4 separate regions of the Homo sapiens genome follow, and regions 1, 3 and 4 are each linked to region 2. The links are contacts of gene promoters, found by promoter capture Hi-C in blood cells and fetal thymus (Javierre and others, 2016). All regions are on one chromosome and are shown on one strand. The core of a region is centred on a gene start or on the middle of the fragment in contact, and the rest is flanking DNA. Distances in the headings are between cores, read along the strand shown.

What was found. The method cuts DNA at HindIII sites, captures the fragments that hold promoters and counts their contacts. A CHiCAGO score of 5 or more calls a contact.
Region 1: a fragment that was not itself captured here is called in contact with the fragment with the promoter of MFAP1 in region 2 in 1 of 17 cell types (endothelial precursors); the score reaches 6.2 in endothelial precursors.
Region 3: a contact is called between a fragment that was not itself captured here and the fragment with the promoter of MFAP1 in region 2, in 1 of 17 cell types (endothelial precursors). The highest score is 6.0, in endothelial precursors.
Region 4: a contact is called between a fragment that was not itself captured here and the fragment with the promoter of MFAP1 in region 2, in 2 of 17 cell types (endothelial precursors and erythroblasts). The highest score is 7.2, in endothelial precursors.

What each region holds. Positions count from the first base shown.
Region 1 is chr15:44,499,918-44,506,154 of GRCh38, forward strand. The region is part of intron 8 of CTDSPL2 (CTD small phosphatase like 2); the gene reads left to right. Among named protein-coding and RNA genes, the nearest start is that of EIF3J-DT, 34 kb to the right of the region's middle. The HindIII fragment of the contact is 252 bases long and covers 3,812-4,063 here.
Region 2 is chr15:43,822,317-43,828,297 of GRCh38, forward strand. MFAP1 (microfibril associated protein 1) reads right to left here and starts at 2,374. Exons shown (of 9, transcript NM_005926.3): 1 at 2,175-2,374. The coding sequence starts at 2,253. WDR76 (WD repeat domain 76) reads left to right here and starts at 4,686. Exons shown (of 13, transcript NM_024908.4): 1 at 4,686-4,776; 2 at 5,649-5,981. The coding sequence starts at 4,717. RefSeq lists enhancers at 2,178-2,437, 2,190-2,821 and a silencer at 4,655-4,714. The HindIII fragment of the contact is 28,469 bases long and covers 1-5,981 here.
Region 3 is chr15:44,478,964-44,484,932 of GRCh38, forward strand. It overlaps CTDSPL2 (CTD small phosphatase like 2), which reads left to right. Exons shown (of 13, transcript NM_016396.3): 3 at 5,261-5,399. Among named protein-coding and RNA genes, the nearest start is that of CTDSPL2, 54 kb to the left of the region's middle. The HindIII fragment of the contact is 1,898 bases long and covers 3,054-4,951 here.
Region 4 is chr15:44,515,479-44,521,616 of GRCh38, forward strand. It overlaps CTDSPL2 (CTD small phosphatase like 2), which reads left to right. Exons shown (of 13, transcript NM_016396.3): 11 at 3,691-3,817; 12 at 5,833-5,928. Among named protein-coding and RNA genes, the nearest start is that of EIF3J-DT, 18 kb to the right of the region's middle. The HindIII fragment of the contact is 2,419 bases long and covers 3,496-5,914 here.

The DNA.
Region 1 (6,237 bases), core at 2,688-5,187, 680 kb after region 2:
GTAGAAGTATAATGGATTTCATCAACATTTTAATGATTTATTAACAAAATTAGCATCATGCTAGATATTACATAAAACAACATTAATTTGTTACTCCAAAAATGCTAACTTTCTTACCTTGAGATCTCAGCTAGTTTCATAATCTGTTTGCCAGCAGGTGGAGGCAGGAGCACTGACATCATAGATCCTCAAGAGGAACTTGCCAGGTTAACTCCTGGTGTTTTTGTTTTTGTTTTCCAAAAATCCAATTAATACAAAGAAAACTCATTCCTTGTTGATCATTTTATTTCCTATAGTAGTAATGTGGTCTGTGAAAATTACACTTTAGTACATCTCTTTTATAATTAATCTTAGAATTCCAGGACACTCTTCTAGTTATTGTTTTACTTAGGGCATTTTAGTTTGAGCATTTCTCTCTCATCTGTGCTGATGGACAGGTAACAGTGCAAAATACAAATATCATTAACATTTCACTGTGGATTATGTGTGCTGGCCATAGTTTTTACTTTAAGGTTTTTCCATTATTATAAGATTGAGTTAATAATATAAGTGAATACACTTTGAAAATTGCAAAGTACGTTTCTGTTTTGGAGGTTGTTATTTAACTAGCATTATTTGCATTATATAATAGTTGAAAGATTGGGAATCGAAAAGTTTGTTGTCTGTCAAGAGGGAGCCAGCCTAAAGATTAACTTAGTAAAGTCACAGAGTGCTTGCCATGTGGATGATGAAAATGTGTTTGGTTGTTTATGTGCTCTTAAAGGCAGTTAGAATGTGGTTATAGTTTTCTTGGCAGATAATAGTTGATGTCTCACAGAAACCGTGAAATTTAAGAGTTAAATAGAAGTTTGTGGTTCATGGCTACTTTAACCTACTTTGTCTAGTAATGAGTTGTAAGAGGATTTATTTTAGTTGTCAGTTCTAGTTTTAACCTAGGGTAGGTATTGTAGCTATGGCAATAAATATTTGAATACTGAATTCACTTTTTATGTAAGCTGATTTTAGTCCTGATGTATAATCGGGGGTAAGCAAAATGTACATAAAATTAAAAGATTTAAAGATTTTTCTGTTCCCTTTCAAAACTGATGATTATTTGGTTTAAGGCAAGTATTTTTCTTAAGACCTTTTTTATCAAATTTGTTGTTCTTGTTTAGTGGACTTTAAGGACAGGAGTCCTTGTGGCAGATGTAAATAGTATAGTGATATCTTAGTTTTCTCTTTTAAGCTCGATAACCTTGTTGGGGTTTTTCTTTGTTTTTTGCTTTTGGGTGTTTTTCGTGATTGCATTTGAAAAAAATGGCTTTAAGGCTTTGAATTTGGAAAGGAAAGCTATTAATTGAAAAATATAGATAAACAATGATTTTGAGATGACTTCTTAAGCTTCTAGGTTTGAAATTGAAATTTATTTCTTACAGATGGTTTTTGTTCTGTTTATGTAATTCTTAGTAGTGAATAAGAAACTTAAGTAGGTAAATTTGATTCTTCCCTTTCATGAGCGTTTCTCTTCAGTATGATCATAAAATTGAATTTTTTTCTTACTGCTTCTACCATTTCTGCTTTAACTCTCTTTTTAAAGTTCTTATTATTTCATGTGGATCTGGATAGTTGTCTTATTTTGAATAAAAAGCTTCTAGCAGCATATATGACTAATTAAAATACTGTATGTATGTACTGCATCTACCTCTGTGGAATTCAGACAACTCTTTTTCTTATGTATTCTGAGTTACACTTTCTGAAACTGAAAAATAAATGATCTAGCCTAAATGAGAGCACAGAGCAGGTAGTTTGAACCTTATAAGCTATAGAGATGATTGCACTTTAATACGATTTAGTTACCATATCACAGACAGAGTTTAGTTACTTTTTAGTAAATTTTTGAGGATATCCGTAGTTAATATTGGGTACATTCCCTTGGATTTCTTATTTTGGCATAGCCATTCTGTCTTTTAAAAAATAAATGAAGAAATCTTTGGGTTAGGGTTCCCCCAGTTTTCAGACCAGCAAGCTCCCTTTAAACAGGGAATGATGTCTTTTAAACTTTCAGTGGTGTTGTCTCCATCTACTGGCAAAGAAGAAATATACACAAGGGTCTGAGATGATCTAAGAGATATTGGAGAAACCACATTATTAGGTAAGATGTAACTTAAATCTTTAACCACTGTACTATGATGTGGCCCACTTAAAGGTAGAAATCTGTAAAGTACTGCATATACTCTTATTTTTTAAAAAATTTATTGAGGTGAAATTTACATGACAAAATTAACCATTTTTAAATGAACAGTTCCATAGCGTGTATCTGTATTATTCTTGAATGTTAGTTTTATAGCATTTACATATATATGTATATATATTTTATATGTAAAGATCAAATTTTTCATCTGAAAGCCAGATGGAGTGTCCTCTTGGGACTTATTTTACGTTTTTTTTCTTTCTGTGGTATATTTGTTATGGTTGACCTATAACTAATTTTAACTCTACATGTTATTTCTGTTTCATTTCAAAATAATTTAATTGTATTATATATGTTTTAATAATTGTCTATATCAGGGGTTGGCAACCTTTTTCTATAAAGGGCCAGTTGTAAATATTTTAGGTTTTGTGGTCCCTGTCATGACTGCTTTTTGTGCTATTGCAGCATGAAAGTAGCCATGGACAATACATAAATGAAAAAGCATGACTGTGTCCCAGTACAACGTTATATACAAAAATCAGTGGCAGGCTGCATTTGGCCACCATAGTTTGCTGATTCCTGGTCTAATAATTATGAGAGTATATACAGTAAATTTACATATTCAAATTGTAAGTAGAAGTAAGTAATCAAATGTTCATCAAAATTCTTGTAAATGTATGTAGAAAATTTAAATTAGATCCACAGTAATCTGGTTGTGGGCCTTTAAAGTTTTTTTAAAATCAAAGTTTGAGGGAACTTTGAGGTGGCCACTACTCACATTTAAAGATTGCCTGACTTAATGATACGTACTCTTCTTTTGGTTGATATGTAGGAATAAACTTGGTTAATGCAAGTCTTAGAATTTGTAAGCAGGTAGATTATTGTAAATTAGTACCTTGAGGTGTAATTTGAATTTCATTTCTCTAGGGGATTAAAAAAAAACCTGAAAGATCTATCTCAAATTAAAATTTGATGTATGTTACTACTGACACTATGTGGACTAGACAGAGTATAGTTTGTATATGGATAAAAAGTCATTTGAAAGAACCGACTTGTTAAACGTGAGGAAATGGCACTCATATAGGCAAAATTACAGGCTTTTTGTTTGAATGGGTCTATTTTTCTTAAATTGGTTTTTTTTTTACATTGTTTTATAATCAGTTATTAAGAAAACATGTATTCATAAAATGGTACAAATGCATTTGATATCTGGAAAAACAAGTGCATGATCACTTTTATTGCACATGTTTAATCTTTATATTTAGCCTATATTGGCACTTTGTCAGGAAATCCATCTCGTGGTGTTACTCAGTTAAGAGGTCTCCACTGTATTTAGTTTCTGTTCCTGCAGATCCACCAATTCAAGACTCTAGGTCATCTCACTCCCTCTTCCATCCCGAAGATGACTTCTATCCACAAGCAGGAGTGAATCAAAAGACATTTTTCACTTAGCTCTTGAGCTGAACCACCTCCTCAATGACCTTCCTCTGTCTCCATCAAGAACTGGAGCTCAGTTTTTTGAAGATGTAATAGAACTACTCAGCCCAAATGTGGCTGATTGAAGACAAAAAGAAGATACCTCATATGTTTCACCACAGTGCAGCCAAACGTAACTGTGTTGTCCAACTCCTCATTCTGTAAAGCTTGGCAGGGGCATCTGATTTTTGACTCTGTTCACCAATAAGACTTTAGCCAGTCAGTGGCTTTCTGAAGATCAGTAAAATCAACAAACTTTGGGTCAGCTGTCCAGAAATCAGATTGTGGTAAGCACTCAAGGACAGATAGGATCCCTGTAGGGAGCTACTTGTAAAAGATGCTTTGTTTTATTAGTAGAGGTTGCTTTTATGGGAAAAGTTGGGGGAAGAGGTGGATGGGGAAGGCCACGGTTAGCAAAGCTTACCCGCGTCCCCATTCTTTCAGTTTTCTTGGGAATCTTACAGCTTAGGATAATTTTCATATCACAGAACAAGAGAAGTAGAACCAGGTGCAGTGGCTCACGCCTGTAATCCCAGCACTTTGGGAGGCGGAGATGGGCAGATCACCTGAGGCCAGGAGTTCAGGACCACCCTGGCCAACATGGCAAAACCCTATCTCCACAAAAAAATAAAAAAAATTAGCCGGGCGTGGTGGCAGGTGCCTGTAATCCCAGCTACTCAGGAGGCTGAGGCAGGAAAATCACTTGAACCCAGGAGGCGGAGGTTGCAGTGAGCCAAGATTGCGCCACTGCACTCCAGCCTGGGCGACAAAGCGAGTCTCCATCTCAAAAAAGAAAAGAAAGAACAAGAGAAGTAGAGGGTCAGTTGCTTCTGTCTCCTCTTTACAGTCTTTTCTAGAAAAGTCAGCTTTATTTTTGCTTCATGAAGGAAAGAAACCAATCATTTAAATTTATAATTTTGTAGTAAATACCTAATTTTTTTCTCAAGTTCTGGCTTAAATTGATACTAACCAACATGCACATTGTTCTTGAGATTCATCTACAAAAGTAGCCTAAAAAAAACTTTTGAGGCCGGGGCAGTGGCTTGCTTGTAATCCCTGCACTGGGAGGCTGAGGTGAGAGGAATGCTTGAGCCTGGGAGTTTGAGACCGGCCTGGGCAAGATAGTGTGAGATCCTGTCCCTTCCAAAAAAAAAAAATTAGCCGGGCATGGTGGGGAGCACCTATAGTCCCAGCTACTCGATAGGCTGAGGCAGGAGGATTGCTTGAGCCAGGAGGCTGAGAAATCAGACAACCATTTCAGGGTCATAGTTGCATAGTATAGAGGATAAAACTAATATTTTAGCTTGTAGGGAACAATAATTCAATAATTAATTGTAGATGAATATTAAAAATACTACTTTAGAATAATTTTAAAGTCACTTTCCCATCCTTATTAGTATGTTTAGTTATTGGTACTAATTTTTTCATCATAATTATTCATTATTAATTGGCTAAAAAAAGGAAAAGATACAAATGAAACCAATAGTTCTCTATTTCTCAAAAATATGGAAAAATATATTTTATGGGGATTCTTTGTCTAAAATGTATCTTTCAAAATTAGGAGCAATTCATTAAAATAAAATAGAGGCCAGGTGTGGTGGCTCATGCCTGTAATGATAGCACTTTGGGAGCCCTAGGTGGGTGGATGGCTTGAGCTCAGGAGTTCAAGACCAGCCTGGGCAATGTAGTGAGACCTTGTCTCCACAAAAAATGCAAAAATAGGTGGCACACACCTCTAGTCCCAGCTACTTGGGAAGCTGAGGTGGGAAGATCACCGGAACCCCGAGAGCTTCAGGCCCTAGTGAGCTGTGATCACGCCACTGCACTCCACCCTGGGTGACAGAGAGCCAGTCTCAAAAAGAAAAAAAAGAAGGAGAAAAAACATACGGGCCAGCCATGGTGGCTCACACCTCTAATCCCAGCACTTTGGGAGGCTGAGGCAGGTGGATCACCTGAGGTCAGAGAGTTCGAGACCAGCCTAAACAACATGGTGAAACCCTGTCTCTACTAAAAAAAAGAAATTAGCTGGGCGTGGTGGCAGGTGCCTGTAATCTCAGCTACTCGGGAGGCTGAGACGGGAGAATTGCTTGAACCCGGGAGGGAGAGGTTGCAGTGAGCCGAAATCGCACCATTGCACTCTAGGCTGGGCAACAGAGCGAGACTCTGTCTCCCAAAAAAAAAAAAAAAGAAAAGAAAAGAAAACATACTATGTGGAAAGTTCTTATTTAATGGCTATAAATTTAGAAGGTGTGACAGTTGATTACATTAAATTGGAGGCTTCATTTCCTTTGAAGTTTAGAGTTTGAGTTTAAAGGTAACATTTTTGTTTTACTAAAATGGCCATTGTTTTGACTAAACTTTTATTAATGTAAATACATCAAGTTTTTTAACATATGCAAATATATGTACATACAATATAATGGCCAATTTTTCCCTGATGAAAATTATGCTTCATTGGTAACTTTTTTTTTTTTTTTTTTTTTTGAGACAGAGTCTCAATCTGTTGCCCAGGCTGGAGTGCAATGGCGCTATCTTGGCTCACCACAATCTCTGCCTCCCAGGTTCAAGAAATTCTCCTGCCTCAGCCTCCC
Region 2 (5,981 bases), core at 1,124-3,623:
ACCAAGTGTGTAGATGATGAATATATGGGAAATAAAGCTCTTAGGTTCTCAAAGTTTGTTTTCTTTTTTTTCTTTGAGACAGAGTCTTGCTCTGTTGGCCAGGCTGGAGTGCAGTGGCATGATCTTGGCTCCATGAAACCTCCACCTGCCGGGTTCAAGTGATTCTCCTGCCTCAGCCTTCCAAACAGCTGGGATTACAGGCGTGCGCCATCACACCCGGCTAATTTTTGTATTTTTAGTAGAGACGGGGTTTCACCATGTTGGCCAGGCTGGTCTCAAACTCCTGACCTCAGGTGATCCACCCATCTCGGCCTCCCAAAGTGCTGGGATTACAGGCCTGAGGCATCACGCCCAGCCTTTGTTTTAACAGACAGGGTCTTGATCTGTTGCTTAGGTTGGAGTGTAATGGCACAATCATAGCTCATTGCATCTTTGAACTTTCGAGCATAAGTGATCCTCCTGCTTTGGCTTCCCCCAAGTAGCAGGAGCACATCACTACATCCCGCTAATTTTTAATTATTATTATTATTATTATTTTTGAGACGAAGTCTTGCTCTTGTCCCCCAGGCTGGAGTGCAATGGTGCGATCTCGGCTCACTGCAACCTCTGCCCCCTGAGTTCAAGTGATTCTCCTGCCTCAGCCTACCGAGTAGCTGGGATTACAGGCGCCTGCCACCACACCTGGCTAATTTTTGTATTTTTAGTAGAGACGGTTTCACCACGTTGGCCAGGTTGGTCTCGAACTCTTGACCTCAGGTGATCCACCAGCCTCAGCCTCCCAAAGTGCTGGGATTACAGGCGTGAGCCACCGCGCCGGGCCCTAATTTTTATTTTTGCAGAGATTGGCGGGGGTGGGGGGTGGTCTCGCTATGTTGCCCAAGCTGGTCTTGAACTCCTGGCCTCAAGCGATCCTCCTGCCTCAGCCTCCCGAAGTGCTGAGATTACAGGTGTAAGCCACTGTGCTCCACAAATTCTTATGTTCTTATAACTTACTTTGGGGAGCAATTGGCAACAGGTACTAAATAAAGCTAGTATTGGCTAGAGAATGACAATTGCAGAACTTTCTTTTTTTTTTTTTGAGAGAGTGTCTCACACTGTGGCCCAGGCTGGAGTGCAATGGTGCGATCTCTGCTCACTGCGACCTCCACCTCCCGGGTTCAAGCAATTCTCCTGCCTCAGATTCCCAAGTAGCTGGGATTACAGGTACCCACCACCATGCATGGCTAATTTTTTGTATTTTTAGTAGAGACGGGGTTTCGCCATGATCGCCAGGCTGTCTTGAACTCCTGACCTCAGGTGTTCAGCCCGCCTCAGCCTCCCAAAGTGCTGGGTTTATGGGCATAAGACACCGTGCCTGGCCGCAGCACTTTTTTGAACAAGGGGACAACCACCTGCCTCTCAGTAGGGAATAAAGTGTGGATTACAGTTTATTTTATACAATGGAATTCATAAGCTGTTAAGATGAATGAATTAGATGTATAGGGATCCAAAGATAATTCTCAAAAGCCATGTTGAGACTAGATACGGCGGCATCTACTCGGGAGGCTGAGGCAGGAGGACAGCCTGAGCCCCAGGAATTCGAGTCCAGCCTGGGCAGCATAAGCAGACTTCTATGGACAGCAAAAGAGGGACTGTATCCCGCACAATGCCCTGCCAACAGGCATTCTCTATCTATCTATCTAGTCTGATATTATATACATATTCTGATATATACTTAAGTTCCTAATTATTAGATTAATAATATACTTAAGTTCCTAAGTAATTACACTAATAATACATAAATTCTTGTAATTATATGTAATTAGTGATATTATATTCTAATCATAATATATATTAGACTAATACATATATTCTAGCATATATATATTAGACATATATATTCTGATATATACTTAAGTTCCTAATGTTTTTATATGTGTAATATATATTATATATATGTAACATTAGTCTAAGGAATTTGTGGAGGCTAACAGAAGAGAGGTGCTTGCTGAATACGAGAGCAGGCCACAGGAACAAGATCGGATGCAAGTGGGTGGGGGTGGAAAGATCGAAGAATCTGGCAGCCAGATCTCAAGAGCTGGCGGGGTTGGAGTGGTCTGTCCGGGAGAGGTCTGGAGGTTGCTGGGGCCGGAAGGGGTTAAAATTCGACTGGGAAGAGGGTGTTAGCACCGTACCTTTCTCATTGCGAACTGGGACGGCCCCAGCCGTAGACTGAATGGGCGGTTGCTTCATGAGAGCGCTTGGGACCGACATGTTGATGGCAGCGACGGTGATTCCCGAAACTTGACTAATTCCAAACAGTGAACACCAGCAACGTCAACGAAGAGAAGAAATTCCTTCCACCTGAGTCCGCGAACACAGCTGCGCGACTGATAGAGAAACTACTTACGGCTGAGCTAGATAAACCGGAAATACGTGACGAGAGGATTGTGGGATGGTGGACGACGTTTGGGCGCCCACAGCTAGGAAGTCGAGTCGGTTTCTGCGCATGCTCATTGGCTGCCCGCATGTCCTCTACGTCGCAGAATTTGGAAGCAGCTTTTGGCGGGAAATTTTGCTTCCTTTGGGCTTTGCTGTTAGGACTCTGCGGTGAGGAAGGTTCGAATGAAAGATTTTACGTGTTAGCTTGGTTTGAAGCCAAGAACGGTATAGTGAATAAGAAACTCAGGCGACAGTGAGTTACTGTTTGAATGGCTTGTTGAAAGCTCAGAAGAAGTAGAGTTTGATGGAATAAAAATCTTGCCAGTAGTATCCGATTAGCTTAGTTCATAAGGCCAGGGTGGGCTGTGGTGCGGTATTTGGTTTCACAGGGCAGGTGGTGCTGATTTAGGCCAGTGACCGAAAAAAAAAAAAAAAAAACTCCCGAGGTGCCTGGGACATTGCCCACCTGAAATCCCAAAACTCCACTTTTTTAGGCTTTCAGGTTTTTCCAGTTTCTGGAAACTACCTATTAAAATACATTCCTGGCTAGAAAATGTTTGTATTTAAATATCTAAGTAATTATTATTCTTTTGAGACTGTCTTTTTCTGTCACCCAGGCTGGAGTGCAGTGGCTCGATCTCAGCTCACTGCAGTCTCCACCTCCCGGGTTTAAGCAATTCTCGTGCCTCAGCCTTCTGATTAGCTGGGATTACAGGCGCCTGCCACCACTCCCTGCTGATTTTTGTATTTTTAGTAGAGACGAGGTTTCACCATGTTGGCCAGGCTTAAGTGATCCGCCCACTCCGGCCTCCCACAGTGCTGAGTGTTGGCGTGGGCCACCACTCCCGGCTAATTTTTGTATTTTTAGTAGAGGCAGGGTTTCGCCATGTTGCCCAGGCTGGTCTTGAACTCCTGACCTCAGATGATCCACCTACCTCGGCCTCCCCAAAGTGCTGGGATTACAGAGGTGAGCCACCGCACCCGGCCTATTTAAGAACTCTTTAAGGACTTACAGGATAATAACAGAAGCAGCTCCAATTTACAAGCTGAGTCGTGTTAAAAAATATATATAATATTGGCTAATTGGAAAGTCAGGACACATTTCACAGTAGAAAGGACTTTATAACTGCGGGGGAGACAAGGGACAGTAGGAACAAAGTCTTAAAGTCCAGAAACAGTATGTTTTATACAGGACACCATGAAAAGTTTGGTTTTATCAGTAATTTTTGAGTCATGAGGGGCCTTGAAGTTGCTATTAATATGATTAACCCAAATTACTTCACCTGTGTTCTACAATTGGGCCTTGAGTGGGAGAAGAAATGAAACTGGACAAATCTCAGGCAAGGAACAGTGTGGGACCCAACTAAGCAACCAAGGAAACAGTTTTGGGCTAGAAGGAACCTTAAAGAGAATAGCCAGAATCTTATTTTATTATTTATAGAAGAGGGTCTTGCTCTGTCGCTCAGGCTGGAGTTCCGCGCAATCACGGCTCACTGTGGCCTCATCCTTCTAGGTTCAAGCCATTTTCCCACCCCTGCCTTCTGAGTAGCTGGGACTACAGACGTACAACACCACGCTGGGCTAATTTTTGTATTTTTTATAGAGATGGGGTCTCACTATGTTGCCCAGGCTGGTTTGGAACTCCTGGGCCCAAGTGATCCACTCCTCTCGGCCTCTCAAAGTGTTGGGATTACAGGCGTTAGCCACCGCTCCCGGCCTGTTAGTGTTTTTCAAAGCGACATCCCAGTACCACCAGAATCAAAATCACCAGTCAAAGGTAAAAATGTCAGTTCAGCCCCAGGACATCCCTAAAGAATTTGAGTCTAGGGCTTTAAGACAGCATTTTTTTTTTTTTGAGACGGAGTCTCACTCTTGTTGCCCAGACTGGAGTGCAATGGCGCGATCTCAGCTCACTGCAACCTCTGCCCCCTGGGTTCAAGCAATTCTGCCTCAGCCTCCTGAGTAACTGGGATTACAGGCACGCGCCACCAAGCCCGGCTAATTTTTGTAATTTTAGTAGAGACGGGGTTTCGTCATGTTGGCCAGGCTGGTCTCAAACTCCTGACCTCAGGTGATCCGCCGCCTCAGCCTCCCAAAGTGCTTAGGATTACAGGCGGGAGCCACCGCGCCTGGCCAAGGCGGCCTTCTTAAGAAGCGCGCGTAAAACCCCAACTTCCTGCTCTGGCGCTGCGGCCGCTGGGGATCTGAGTGGGCTCCGCCCCGCCTCGGACCCGCCCCTCCCGGCCTCCCGCCGCAATCTTGGCGGGAAGGCGCCGGCCGCTAAGAAGCCGAAAGATGTCCAGGTCGGGCGCGGCGGCTGAGAAGGCGGACTCCAGACAGCGACCCCAGATGAAGGTGAGAAACGGACTGGTGCTTCCAAGGTGTGCTCCTGCCTCGGTTTTTGTGAGGGTTATGCGGGACACAGGCCCAGGAGGTCGAGGGCACCTGGCACCGGGGGTAGGCGGGGGATCCCTGCCCTTAGGCCTTCAGCTTTGACGAAAGGTTCTTATCAATAACCCGAGAAATAGTGGGAGAGTCACATCTGGGATTCCCTTTCTTCAACCTTCTGCGTTTTCTTCTGCCACAGTTATGATCGGCTTCACACTCTTTAAATAATTCCAGACAATCCGCAGCTGACAGTTGGGGTATTTGCCCCAGTCACAAATGCTAGTCATTATTATTATTGGTCTGGAAAACTTATGGGCAAATGTGCCCAGTAAGTGAATTCTACTGAGGTTAAGGTTAGTGAATTACATATCTAGGATTTTGGAGGGGAAAATAAGTTTTCTTACGAAGGGTGTCAATTTGGATTTATTTATTTTTTTGAGCTTAAGTCTCACTCTGTTGCCCAGGCTGGAGGGCAGTGGTGTGATCTCGGCTCACTGCAACCTCCGTCTCCCGGGTTCAAGTGATTCTTCTGCCTCAGCCTCCTGAGTAGCTGGGACTACAGGCGTGTGCCACTATGCCCAGCTAATTTTTGTATTTTTAGTAGAGACAGGTGGTTTCATTATGTTAGCCAGGATGGTCTCGATCTCCTGACCTCGCGATCTGCCCGATTGGGCCTCCCAAAGTGCTGGGATTACAGGCGTGAGCCACTGCACCTGGCCTCAATTTGGATTTATATTGTCTTTGGGAAATGGGAATTATTAGATCTGTTAGGGATCCTGTAAGAAAAGGCACAGGACTTGGAGTTCTAATATTCTGTTTTCTTTTATTGATCTGAATAGGTAAATGAATATAAAGAAAATCAAAACATCGCTTATGTGTCTCTGAGACCAGCACAGACTACAGTTTTAATAAAAACAGCTAAGGTCTATCTTGCCCCCTTTTCACTCAGTAATTACCAGCTAGACCAGCTTATGTGCCCCAAATCCCTATCAGAAAAGAATTCTAACAATGAAGTGGCGTGTAAGAAGACTAAAATAAAGAAAACTTGCAGAAGGATTATACCTCCAAAGATGAAAAACACATCTTCCAAGGCAGAATCCACGCTGCAAAATTCATCCTCAGCTGTTCATACTGAAAGTAACAAGCTACAACCCAAGAGAACGGCAGATGCG
Region 3 (5,969 bases), core at 2,753-5,252, 660 kb after region 2:
AACAAATAAAAAATAATAAAACGTGTCTTGAATTGACATGCCACTCCTGGCTTTTACATTTTCTTCATTTGTTTTTATGTCTGTCTTCATTTCTTTAAAAAAAAACAAACAAACAAAAAAAAAAAAACAAGTTTTCTCCCTTGCCAGGTGTGCTGGCCATCAGCTATAGTCCTGGCTATTCAGGAGGTTGAAGCAGGAGGATTGCTTGAACCTGGGAATTTGAGACCAGTTTGGGCAACTTAGTGAAACCCTGGCTCTCAAAAGAACAAAATTGTTCATTTTACCCTCTTTCTTATAAGGTATAATCTTTTGTTTACTCTCTTGGGCCCCTTGTAGTATAGTCTTTATTTCTGAAATGATTTGTAAAAATTTTTGAATTTTTTTGTTCTGTTTCTTAGTTTCTGAGTTTTTCTTCCTCTGCTGTATGTCTCATATTTTCTTTCCTTTTTTTTTTTTTTTTTTTTTTGAGACAGGATCTTGCTCTGTTGCCCAGGTTGCAGTGGCATGGTCATGGCTCACTGCAGTCTCAAACTCCTGTGCTCAGGTGATCCTCTTGCCTCAGCCTCTTTGAGTTGCAGGGACTATAGGCACATGCCACCATGATTGGCTAATTTTTAAATTTTTGTGTAGAAATGGGATCTTGCTGTGTTGCCCAAGCTGATCTCAAACTCCTGGCCTCAAGTGAGGCTCCTGCCTCGACCTCCCAACGTGCTAGAATTACAGGCCTCCACACCAGCCTCATATTTTCTTATTTTGCCTGATTTTGAAATAGAAGATTATAATTTTTATCTTTTCCCTATGCATCTTTTTCTGACACGTGTTCTTTATCTATAGAGGTATTGTTCTGCTCCACGTGTGTTTCATTATAGTAGTTTTGTGTGGGATTTGATATCTATACTTTCTTGCTCATTTTTATGTGAAATTAGTTTTTCTGAATTTTCAGAAAGTTATGTAGTTCAGGGTATCTCTTTGAACAAATTTTGTTTTTATGTAGTGTTTTTAAATATTGGTGATGCTTTTTGAGTTTTGTCTTTTATTTCTACCATGTGTTTATTTGGAATTTCTCTGTCTTTTCTCTCTGTGCCTGCCCTACTCACATTTGATTCCACTCCCAATACTTCCTCCTAAGTATGGAAACTTGTTCTAGAAGGGCGCCATAGTTGGTCAGTTTCAAGAGTTCATAGGAGCAGACTGTTCCTGTCATTTCAATTCTAGCCATAGACCCCCTATGCTATTGGATTGGACAGCAACTCCCCAACTCCCCTCCCCCTTATTTCATTTGCTGTTCTCAAATTGGCCTGCCGTGGTTTCCAGTGACTACCTACCTGTTAGGTATTTGGGGCTTCTTTTCTCAGGTGTGCCACCTCACTTGTTGCTTATTTCTGTTTTCCTTTGCACTGGTATATATGGACATTTAGTTATTGTGCCTGTTGGTTTGTTCTCATCTGCTTGCATTTTTGAGTGTGGGGGATACCTTGTCTTCTGGTTTCGTTGTAAATGTTGCCCATGGGTTTTTCTTGCCTTTTCAGTTCTCTGTATTTACATGGGGATTCATATATTTAAGAACACCTTCCCATCATTTTCCCCTTAATTACCTATCTTAGAGACAACTTTGAAAAATACAAATTTTGCACTGAGGTGGAAGGATAGCTTGAGGCTAGGAGTTTGAGACCAGCCTGGGCAACATAGCGAGACCCTGTCTCTACAAAAAATAAAAACATTAACAGGGCGTGATGTTATGTGTCTGTATTCCTAGCTGCTTGGGAGGCTGAGGCAGGAAGAATGCTTGAGCTTACGAGTTTGAGGCTGTAGTGAGCCATGACTGTGCTACTACACTCCAGTATGGGCGACAGAGACCCTGCCTCCATGAAAAAAAGAAAAAAGAAAAATACAGATTTTAGAGAAGACATTGTAGGATTACTGTATTTAGTGAAACAGCTTATATAGTAATGTAGAAACTGTGTCTTTCCTAGTTCGTCTTCCTCTTCTAAAAAATCCTACCATGTTCAAAGTATACCCAAATTTTACAGTTGAATGTTCACAGAAGACTAGGATTGGGTGACAAATTGTCATTCAGAATTGGATCATCAGGCTGGGCACCATGGCTCATGCCTGTAATCCCAGCACTTTGGGAGGCTGAGGCAGGAGGATTGCTTGGGGCTGGGAGTTCAAGACCAGTCTGGACAACATAGCAAGACCCTGTCTCTACTGGGGGGAAATAAAAGGATTGGATCATTAGGCATTTCAATGAATTATTCTGAAGAGTATGATTTTACTGTCAATGACTGCAGAATTTTAGTCTTGACCTTAATAGCTTCCTCTTCCGTTTTTGTAACCTGAAGTATTTGAATGTGTTCTAAAGTGACCGCCTTATAGTCTGTTCTGCAACAATATGTGGTGCCCCTACAATAATATTATTTAGCTTACTCACTATTGGTAAACAGGGGAGTAGTATCAATAACATAGTAGGGGGGAGGGGTTTGTAGATGATTTTCTTCTAAACCAGACAACAAACTGAATAATTAGAGTTGAATTTGATATTCTCTTCATCAGGAAAGTAAAAAGCCTCCAGTTCAGCTGCTACATAGGCACAAGTCCTTTCACCTGTATTTTTATTTTTATTTTTTGAGATGGAGTTTCACTCTTGTTGCCTAGGCTGAAGTGCAATAGCATGATCTCAGCTCACCACAACCTCCACCTCCCGGGTTCAAGCGATTCTTCTGCCTCAGCCTCCCAAGTAGCTGGGATTACAGATATGTACCACCATGCCTGGCTAATTTTGTATTTTTAGTAGAGACAGAATTTCTCTATGTTGGTCAGGCTGGTCCCGAACTCCCAACCTCAGGTGATCCGCCTGCCTCGGCCTCCCAAAGTGCTGGGATTACAGGCTTCAGCCACAGCGCCCGGCCTATTTTTATTTTTAATTAAAACTGATAATCTGCAGCAGATATTCTCTCTCCAGAGAGGTGCACCCTGGTCTAGCAGGGACTCTTCACATGTGGCAGTTTGCATTTCCTTTTGTACCCAACTTAACAGCAGCCCTGCTGGCTTAAAGCTTCACTTTTCCCATAAGCCCGTTTCTACTTCATTGTTTTTAGTACCCTTTATTATCCCCTGAGGTAGCATTCCAGCCCTCTTAGCTGCCTTACCTGCGTAGGGATGTCCAAGTTATCTCTGGTGGTCCCAGTCGTTGTTGTTTTAGAGACAGGGTCTCACTTTGTTGCCCAGGCTGGGGTGCAGTGGTGCAATCATAGCTCCCTGCAGCCTTGAACTCCTGGGCTCCCACCTGAGTCTCCCAAGTAGCTGAGATTACAGGCATGTGTCACCAAGCCCAGCTCCAATCATTGTTTTTGTTAGTGCTATGGTTACAAAGTTACAGGGGCATGAACTAATCTGCCCCAACATACCTCTCTCCCCTTCTGGACCCATTTTTTCCATAAGTTTTGTTACTTTTATTGTTGCAGAATGCAAGGTTTTCATGAATGTATGTATGTATGTTATAGCAGCTGTACTAGGACATTTCAGGGGGAGGCTAGGACTTAATGTAGTTGAAACTGCTGTATTATTTCTGTTCTTCAAAGACTTTATAAAGAGAGCTCCTGTATTTTTTGATAATGAAGATTCCATGTTTGTGATAGGAGGCTCCCTGATCCTCATTTTAAAATACAGGAGAATAGTACATGGTCAGAATTGGAAGGATTTTATTGTGGATCACTGAGGCATTATTGTATGCTATTGTAATTTTCACCATTTACAATGCCAAGTTTTGTTTCAGAAATAATGCAGCAATATCCAACTTGTAGAAAATGTATGTTAGTGCATTTTATTAGTTGCTGTAGGGTAAAAACATTAAATACAAAAAAGTAGAGATGAGAATGTTGATTATATGTATCAATTATATATAATATGTAAATTTGAAGATCTAATCCTTACCAAAAGATTTCAGGTAGTCTCATTAAAACAGTAAGGAATTATGTAGGGCAGTATTATAGTAATACTAGAAAATCACTCATGTGGCTAGGTGCTGTGGCTCATGCCTGTAATCCCAGCACTTTGGGAGGCCGAGGCAGGCGAATCACGAGGTCAGGAGTTCGAGACCAGCCTGACCAATATGGTGATGCCCTGTCTCTACTAAGAATACAAAGATTAGCGGGGCGTGGTGGTGCGTGCCTGTAATCCCAGCTACTCGGGAGGCTCAGGCAGGAGAATCGCTTGAACCCAGGAGGCGGGCGGAGGTTGCTGTGAGGCATGATCGTGCCACTGCACTCTAGCCTGGGTGACAGAGTCAGACTCTGTCTCAAAAAAAAAAAAAAGAAAAAGAAAAAATCACTCATGTGCATGACTCTAGAAAAAATTTACAAATGAGGCTGGTCACAGTGGCTTACGCCTGTAATTCCAACCTCGTCTCTACTAAAAATACAAAAATTAGCTGGGCATGGTGGTGGGCGCCTGTAATCCCAGCTACTCGGGAGGCTGAGGCAGGAAAATCGCCTGAACTCAGGAGGTTGAGGTTGCAGTGAGCCAAGATCACACCACTGCACCCCAACCTGGGCAACAGAGGAAAAACTCTGTCTCAAAAAAAAAAAAATTTACAAATTAGAAAACTATATATATAAATAGTAAAACATAAATCATCCTAATGGCTGAAAGTATACTATTTTAGTCCATTAGTACTGCAAGAATAGTATAAACTGGTCATGGGGACTTGCCCCATATAAGGTAGCAAATAGAGAGCTTTGTTAAGGGGTAGACTCTATATTATTTATTCTGGTAATTGAATAATTGAGGTAGGCAGTGCGGGTGTGGCAGTGCCAGGCCCCACCTTTATCCCCACCCTCTATTTTTGGGCTATATGTGACTTGCCAGCACATTCAGTGGGGCTCCCTCTCCTACCCTGAGTTGCTTAAGGAAATTATCTCTGTTCTTAAGGACACTTCTAAAAATGAGGGAAAGCTTTTGAAGATTCAGAGCACATTCTATAATTCAATATTTTGATAGCATGGAAAACTTAATGGACCTTGGGGAAGGGATCTGAATTGTAGGGATGCTGTAATTGTATTTGTATATTGTAATTGCATTCATGTTCTTACAGCCCTGTCAAATTTTTTCTGTGTTGATATTACCTATAATTGCATTTTGTTTTTCCTGGATATGAAAAGCAGAGGAAAGTATATTATACCGTATTTTTTCATTTTAATATTGTAACCTGTAAGGCAGAATGATTGTGCTTAGTGTGTTTTTTTTTCTCTTATATCTTAAGGAAGAGAGAGAAAATCCTTCAAAACGGAGTAGAATTGAACGTGATATAGATAACAATTTGATCACGTCAACACCAAGAGCAGGAGAAAAACCTAACAAACAGATATCTCGAGTAAGACGGAAAAGTCAAGTAAATGGAGGTTTGTTAATATTTAGATACTGTTTTATTTAGGTGTAAGCAGAGATCTCACCTGACACATTTCTTATCTATTTTTAAAACTCTACTTTGAGGCCGGGTGCAGTGGCTCATGCCTGTAATCCTCACATTTTGGGAGGCCGAGGTCGGCGGATCATTTGAGGCCAGGAATTTGAGACCAGCCTGGCCAACGTGGCAAAACCCCGTCTCTATTAAAATCACACACAAAAAATTAGCCAGGCGTGGTGGCGCATGCCTGTAATCTCAGCTACTCAGGTGGCTGAAGGTTGAGAATCGCTGGAACCCGGGAGGCAGAGGTTGCAGTAAGCTGAGATTGTGCCACTACACTCCAGCCTGGGTGACAGAGTGAGACTCTGTCTCAAAAACAAAACAAAACTACTTTGAGTAATTTTTGCCTTAATTTTGTAATCTTTGTATTATTAGTAACATGAAGTGAAATAAAAATGTGCTAATTTGAATCTTACTTTGAATTAAAGTAAGTAAAGATAGAGTATATACCTTTATGCTATTTAGCATAAAAATGTATGTGGATCAACATTTTGAACATCTAAAT
Region 4 (6,138 bases), core at 3,455-5,954, 700 kb after region 2:
AGTAAGACTGCAGCAGTCTTGCTGTATCCTTTAAGAGGAGGGGTTAATCTTTGAATTTTTGATCAAAAGCTGAGAGAGATGACACAAACGGCTCATAAAAGCTTTAATAGGGCCAGGCGCGGTGGCTCACGCCTGTAATCCCAGCACTTTGGGAGGCTGAGTCTGGCTAATCACCTGAGGTCAGGAGTTCAAGGCCAGCCTCACCAATATGGAGAAACCCCGTGTCTCTACTAAAAATACAAAATTTAGGTGGGCGTGGTGGCGCATGCCTGTAATCCCAGCCACTCGGGAGGCTGAGGCAGGAGAATCGCTTGAACCCGGAAGGCGGAGGTTATGGTGAGCCGAGATCGTGCCGTTGCACTCCAGCCTGGGCAACAAGAGCAAAACTCCATCTCAAAAAAAAAGACTTTAATAGCTGGGTTGGTTGGTTGGTTCGTTCGTTCTTTCTCTCTCTCTTTCTTTCTTTCTTTCTCTCCTCTCTCTTTCTCTATTTCTTTCTTTCTTTTTCTTTTTTTTTTTTTTTGAGGCGGATTCTCACTCTGTTGCCCAGGCTGGAGTGCAGTTTGCAATCTCTGCCTTCTGAGTTTAAAAGATTCTCCTGCCTCAGCCTCTCGAGTAGCTGGGACTACAGGTGTGTGCCACCACACCTGGCTAATTTTTAGTGTTTTTAGTAGAGATGGGGTTTCATCATATTGGCCAGGCTGGTCTTGAACTCCTGACCTCAAGTGATCCACCCACTTTGGCCTCCCAAACTGCTGGCATTACAGGCGTGAGCCACTGCACCCAGCCCAGCTGAGTATAAATTTTCTTAAATACTTTTCCCATGTTGTCTTACTGGAAAATCCTAAAGTGTATTTTCTGCTGTTAACAGTACCTTTATTATTCAGTGGTTGCAAGTATACTGAAAGGCTTTTCCTAATGTTCATATTTTGGAAGGTTTTTTATTCTAAATAAAGCTGTGGTATCTTTTGTTTTTTAATCTAAAGGGTCAAAATAAGTAAGCTGCAGTCACACAAATGGGAAATGGTATTTTCTGTTCACAAAAGTATATTGTAATTTATGCTAATTTTACCTCACTTTACTAAAGTATACCCAGTGATTTTGTTTTGATGACTTCATTCATTATAATGATTTCTGTTCAGCATCTCCAGTATTCCAGGGAACAGTGGTGAGCAACACAAGCTCTTCCCTCTTGGAGCTTTCATTTACTAATGAGGAACAAATGATAGTCATGTTATGACAATGTGTTATAAATTAACAATCCTCTTTTAAACTAGATTTATAAAACCTACACACTTGAGGGTTTCCATTTGTTCTATCTAGATGTATTTTGAGAAATCTGAAACAAAAGCTTGTTTTTTTGTTTGTTTGTTTGTTGTTTGAAACAGTCTTGCTCTGTCACCCAGCCTGGAGTGCAGTGGTGCGATCTTGGCTCACTGTAAACTCGGCCTCCCAGATTCAAGCGATTCTCCTGCCTCAGCCTCCTGATAAGCTGGGATTGCAGGCGCGCATCACCACGCCCAGCTAATTTTTGTATTTTTAATAGAGACGGGGTTTCATCATGTTGGTCAGGCTGGTCTGGAACTCCTGACCTCGTGATCCGCCCACGTTGGCCTCCCAAAGTGCTGGGATTACAGGCGTGAGCCACCGCGCCTGGCCAACAAAAGCGTTTCAAAGAGTAGATTGTGAGTGCTATAGGGAATTGTCTGTGTTGGTGACAAGGTAGACTCTAAGAAATTCCTATGATCTAGGCTGAGTGCCGTGGCTCACGCCTGTAATCCCAGCACTTTGGGAGGCCAAGGCAGGCGGATCACGAGGTCAGGAGTTCAAGACCAGCCTGGCCAACATAATGAAACCTCGTCTCTACTAAAAATACAAAAAAAATTAGCTGGGCATGGTGGCAGGCGCCTGTAATCCCAGCTACTCGGGAGGCAGAGGTTGCAGTGAGCCGAGAGTCTGCCATTGCACTCCAGCCTGGGCGACAGTGGGAGACTCCGTCTCAAAAAAAAAAAAAGAAGAAAAAAAGAAATTCCTGTGATCTCTAAATCTCATGAGTTTCTAACACAAGTCTGTACTCACATGGATGATCTGCTCTTTGATGACTGGTACAAATAGTTTTTTTCTAAAAATGCAAATACATGCTATACACCCTCAGATTCCTGAATGAATAATTGGAAGGCTTTTACTGTAATTTAATTAAAATAACTGTAGTATCCACGTACAGATTCAGTTGTCTCCTGTCTCAATGAGTTTGCCACTATCGGTGAAGAGGCATCAACAGTGACTTGAATTTACATGCTGTATCTGCCTTTCCAGTTTCCTCATATCTAAATGTTTATAGAAATAAAACAGTGAATCTTATTTAGGCCCAACCAAGGCTTGAATTAATTTACTTAGTCTTTTTTGTTGTTGTTTTTTCAAAGTAGAACTGACTAAACTTTCCCGGGGCCAGATGATCGTTTGACTGTGATTATTAAAGTTATTCCTTATAATAAGGGGGAAAGAACTGCTTATACATTTTGTCTGTTCGTTAAATTCTTCCTTTTTGCCATACCAACTGGCACTGATAATTTTAAGGTTGAGTTTTTATTTGTGTGTGTATATGTAGATTTTTATTTATTCTTGGTAGCACTGTGACAGATTTTGTGGGTAGAAAATACCAGTTTCTTGAAATTGCATAATTTAAAATACAGGTCCAAATAGGTCCTAGATTTTGTAAAATTGTTAGTGTGATTAAGACACAAGGAAGACAACTTACCAATTATTAATATATACAGAATAGAGTACTTCAAGGTAGAAAAAAATTATATGAAACAATTATTAGTAATGTTCAGAGACTAGTATTTTGAGTATAAATTGAGATTATAATAATCACTTTAGTATTGTAAAACCTTTAATAGCTTTCTAAAATGATGTAGTATTTTTCTATGTGAGTGAAATATCAGTTTACATTTATAATACTTGATACTTAAATCTGAATTCCTCATTTCACTTAATCTTTTTTCAAATGATCATACACATATACTAAAAGAGGGGTGTTTAGGAAAAGTTGAAATGATGGAATGTTTTGGTCTTAGGACCTTTTCTCAAAAAAAATAAGGAAATCTAAAAAGCATTTTTTCAAATGCCAACACAAAAACATTCCTTCTTATATTTTCTATTCTGGCATGTACAGGGATAGGGAGGCTGTGTGGTCCACTGGTTAGAGCCAAGGACTGGGAGCCAGGAGGATCCTGGGTTCCAATGCGGGGCTAACCACTGACTTACTGTGTGACCTTGGGCAAGTCACTTGACCTCCTTGTTCCTCAGTCAACCATCTGGAAAATTGGTTAAAAAGCAGGACCTCGCTGACAACCAGATGCTGCATCTGAGCTGAGCTTTCTTGGGTAAATAAATTACAAAAACAATTTAGAGTTTTTAATCCCCCTTTATAATTTAATAATAACATTTTGGGATAAACTCAAGTTCTTTAAGGCATAGTAATATTTGGTTGTAAGCTTTCAGTAATTGCTTAGAATTTTTATAGTAAAATGGCAGCCCAACGCTTAGACCCATATTTGTGTTTGAATTTCCTTCAAGAGAGAAAATCATATGGCTTAAACTATAAAGCCTATGGTGTATATATATGTGTATATGTTCTACTTTTTAGAAAGTTTTTTTTTTTTAATTTGTTTTTATTTTTATGTTTAGGCACCGGCTTTTCCGTGAACATTGTGTTTGTGTACAAGGAAACTATATAAAGGACTTAAATATTCTTGGAAGAGATCTTTCAAAAACTATAATAATTGACAACTCACCACAAGCCTTTGCATATCAGGTAGGAAGAAAGTTGATAAACAAACTCAGATTGGAAAAAATACAATGAAGACACATGCTGCCAAACAGAATATGATGGGAGAAGAAGAAGAGAATTTTCACTGGTGGAATTTCCCTTTAATGTGTCATTTTTTTAGAATTAGAAATGACAAAGTGGTATATTCCTTTTGGAAAATTTTTACTTAAATGACATGCAGCATAAATGAAGAAAAACCTGAGTAAGAAAACTATAAGATAAGCATCATTGAATAGCATTCTTATCAGTTATTAAATCAGTAATTAGTAATTTAATCATAAACATATTTGAGTACTATAGTTAGTTTATGTTCTTCTGGTCTGGTTATTTGGTTTAATGTTCTGAAATATTTTCTTAGACTATTTTGTCAATATATTTGTACCCTTTGTTAATATTTCTTTGACGTATAACTACAAATGTAGATGAGTCATCCTTCCTTCCTTTTGTTTTTTTGTTTTTTTTTGTTTTTGTTTTTTGAGAAGCAGTTTCACTCTTGTTGCCCAAACTGGAGTGGAGTGCAATGGCGTGATCTTGGCTCACTGCAACCTCCGCCTCCTGGGTTCAAGCGATTCTCCTGCCTCAACCTCCCGAGTAGCTGGGATTACAGGTGTCTGCCACCACGCCTGGCTAATTTTGTATTTTTAGTAGAGACGGGGTTTCTCCATGTTGGTCAGGCTGGTCTCGAACTCCCGACCTCAGGTGATCGCCTGCCTCAGCCTCCCAAAGTGGTGGGATTACAGGTGTGAGCCACTGCGCCTGCCTGATGAGTCATCCTTTCAAGGTATATTTTAGATTATGAATATGTCCATGTGATATGATTTCTTTTTTCTTTTTTTTGTTTTCCTTTTTTTTTTTTTGAGACGGAGTTTTGCTCGTCGCCCAGGCTGGAGTGCAGTGGCACGATCTCAGCTCACTGCAGCCTCCACCTCCCGGGTTCGTGATTCTCCTGCCTCCACCTCCTTAGTAGCTGGCACTACAGGTGCGCGCCACTATGCCGTGCTAATTTTTTTGTATTATTAGTAGAGACGGGGTTTTGCTGTGTTGGCCAGGCTGGTCTCGAACTTCTGACCTCAGGTGATCCCACCTGTCTCAGCCTCCCAAAGTGCTGGGATTACAGTTGTGAGCTACCACACCCAGCCCCATGTGATAGGATTTCTTAGATTTGCTTCACAATAAGCCAGTCCAGAATAGGGATGATGCAAAGTGGATTGGAGTATAAACTAGATTTGTCCTGTGTTTCAAAATGTCTATAATAAAAAGAAAACAAGTGAAAAGCTGTATATGATACTAAGTTATATTTAGGTCCTTACTTTTATTTGTTTACATTTAAAAATGTCTTTTAAGAATTTCATCTTGGTTCCTAGTTAAAATTATATCAATTATCCTCCATCTCATATACAACATTTAGCCTAAATTTTAAAACATTTTATCCCAGAGATTATTCACCATAAAATAAATATGGCTTGCATTCTTGTTTTTAGGCTCCTCTTCAATGAAATACCATTAATTTGTTAAGTTTCTACTATATTTCAAGTTATCATCCTACTCGATGGGAATAGAATAATGAATGGGAGATATGGTCACTGTATTTAAGGGGAAAAAAAAGTATAGGCTTTTCTATATTCTCTTTAGATTGGCAGTGTCCCATCATTCACAGTGCCTACCTAGCATTGTACTAATTGTAACTATTTCTTGAAGGAATAATGGAATATTTTATTTATATTAATGATCCTTATAAAATGTATTTTAATGGAACTTTCTTGTTTAGTTTTATATACTCTGAGAAGAAATGACACTGAAAAACCAATAGGCTTCAATTTATTTCCTTATCCTCTGTCTCTTGCACTATTGAGTTGTCAAAGAAAAGTCTGGTGACATTACTTTTCAAAGGAACTTTTAGATCAGTGTTTACTTAATAAATCTTTGTTTATTTTTTAACTTTTTCCAAACTAGGTAAAATATAAGTAAAAGAGGATTTAATTACTTATTTATTGTTTTAGCTTTCTAATGGAATCCCTATAGAAAGTTGGTTTATGGATAAAAATGACAATGAACTCCTAAAATTGATTCCATTCCTGGAGAAGCTTGTAGAACTGGTAAGTGTAGCTTATCTTTTTCTGTTGTGTTTTTGTTAGCTCAACTATATTGAAATAAATATTTTTAAATGTCTTTGCTTTGTGTGTACTGACTTATAAAGTCAACTGTGAGCCAGGTCACAGGTGCCATCATAGGCGCCTGTAGTGCCAGCTACTTTAGAGTCTGAGGCAGGAGGATTGATTGAGCCTAGGAATTTGAGGTCATACTAG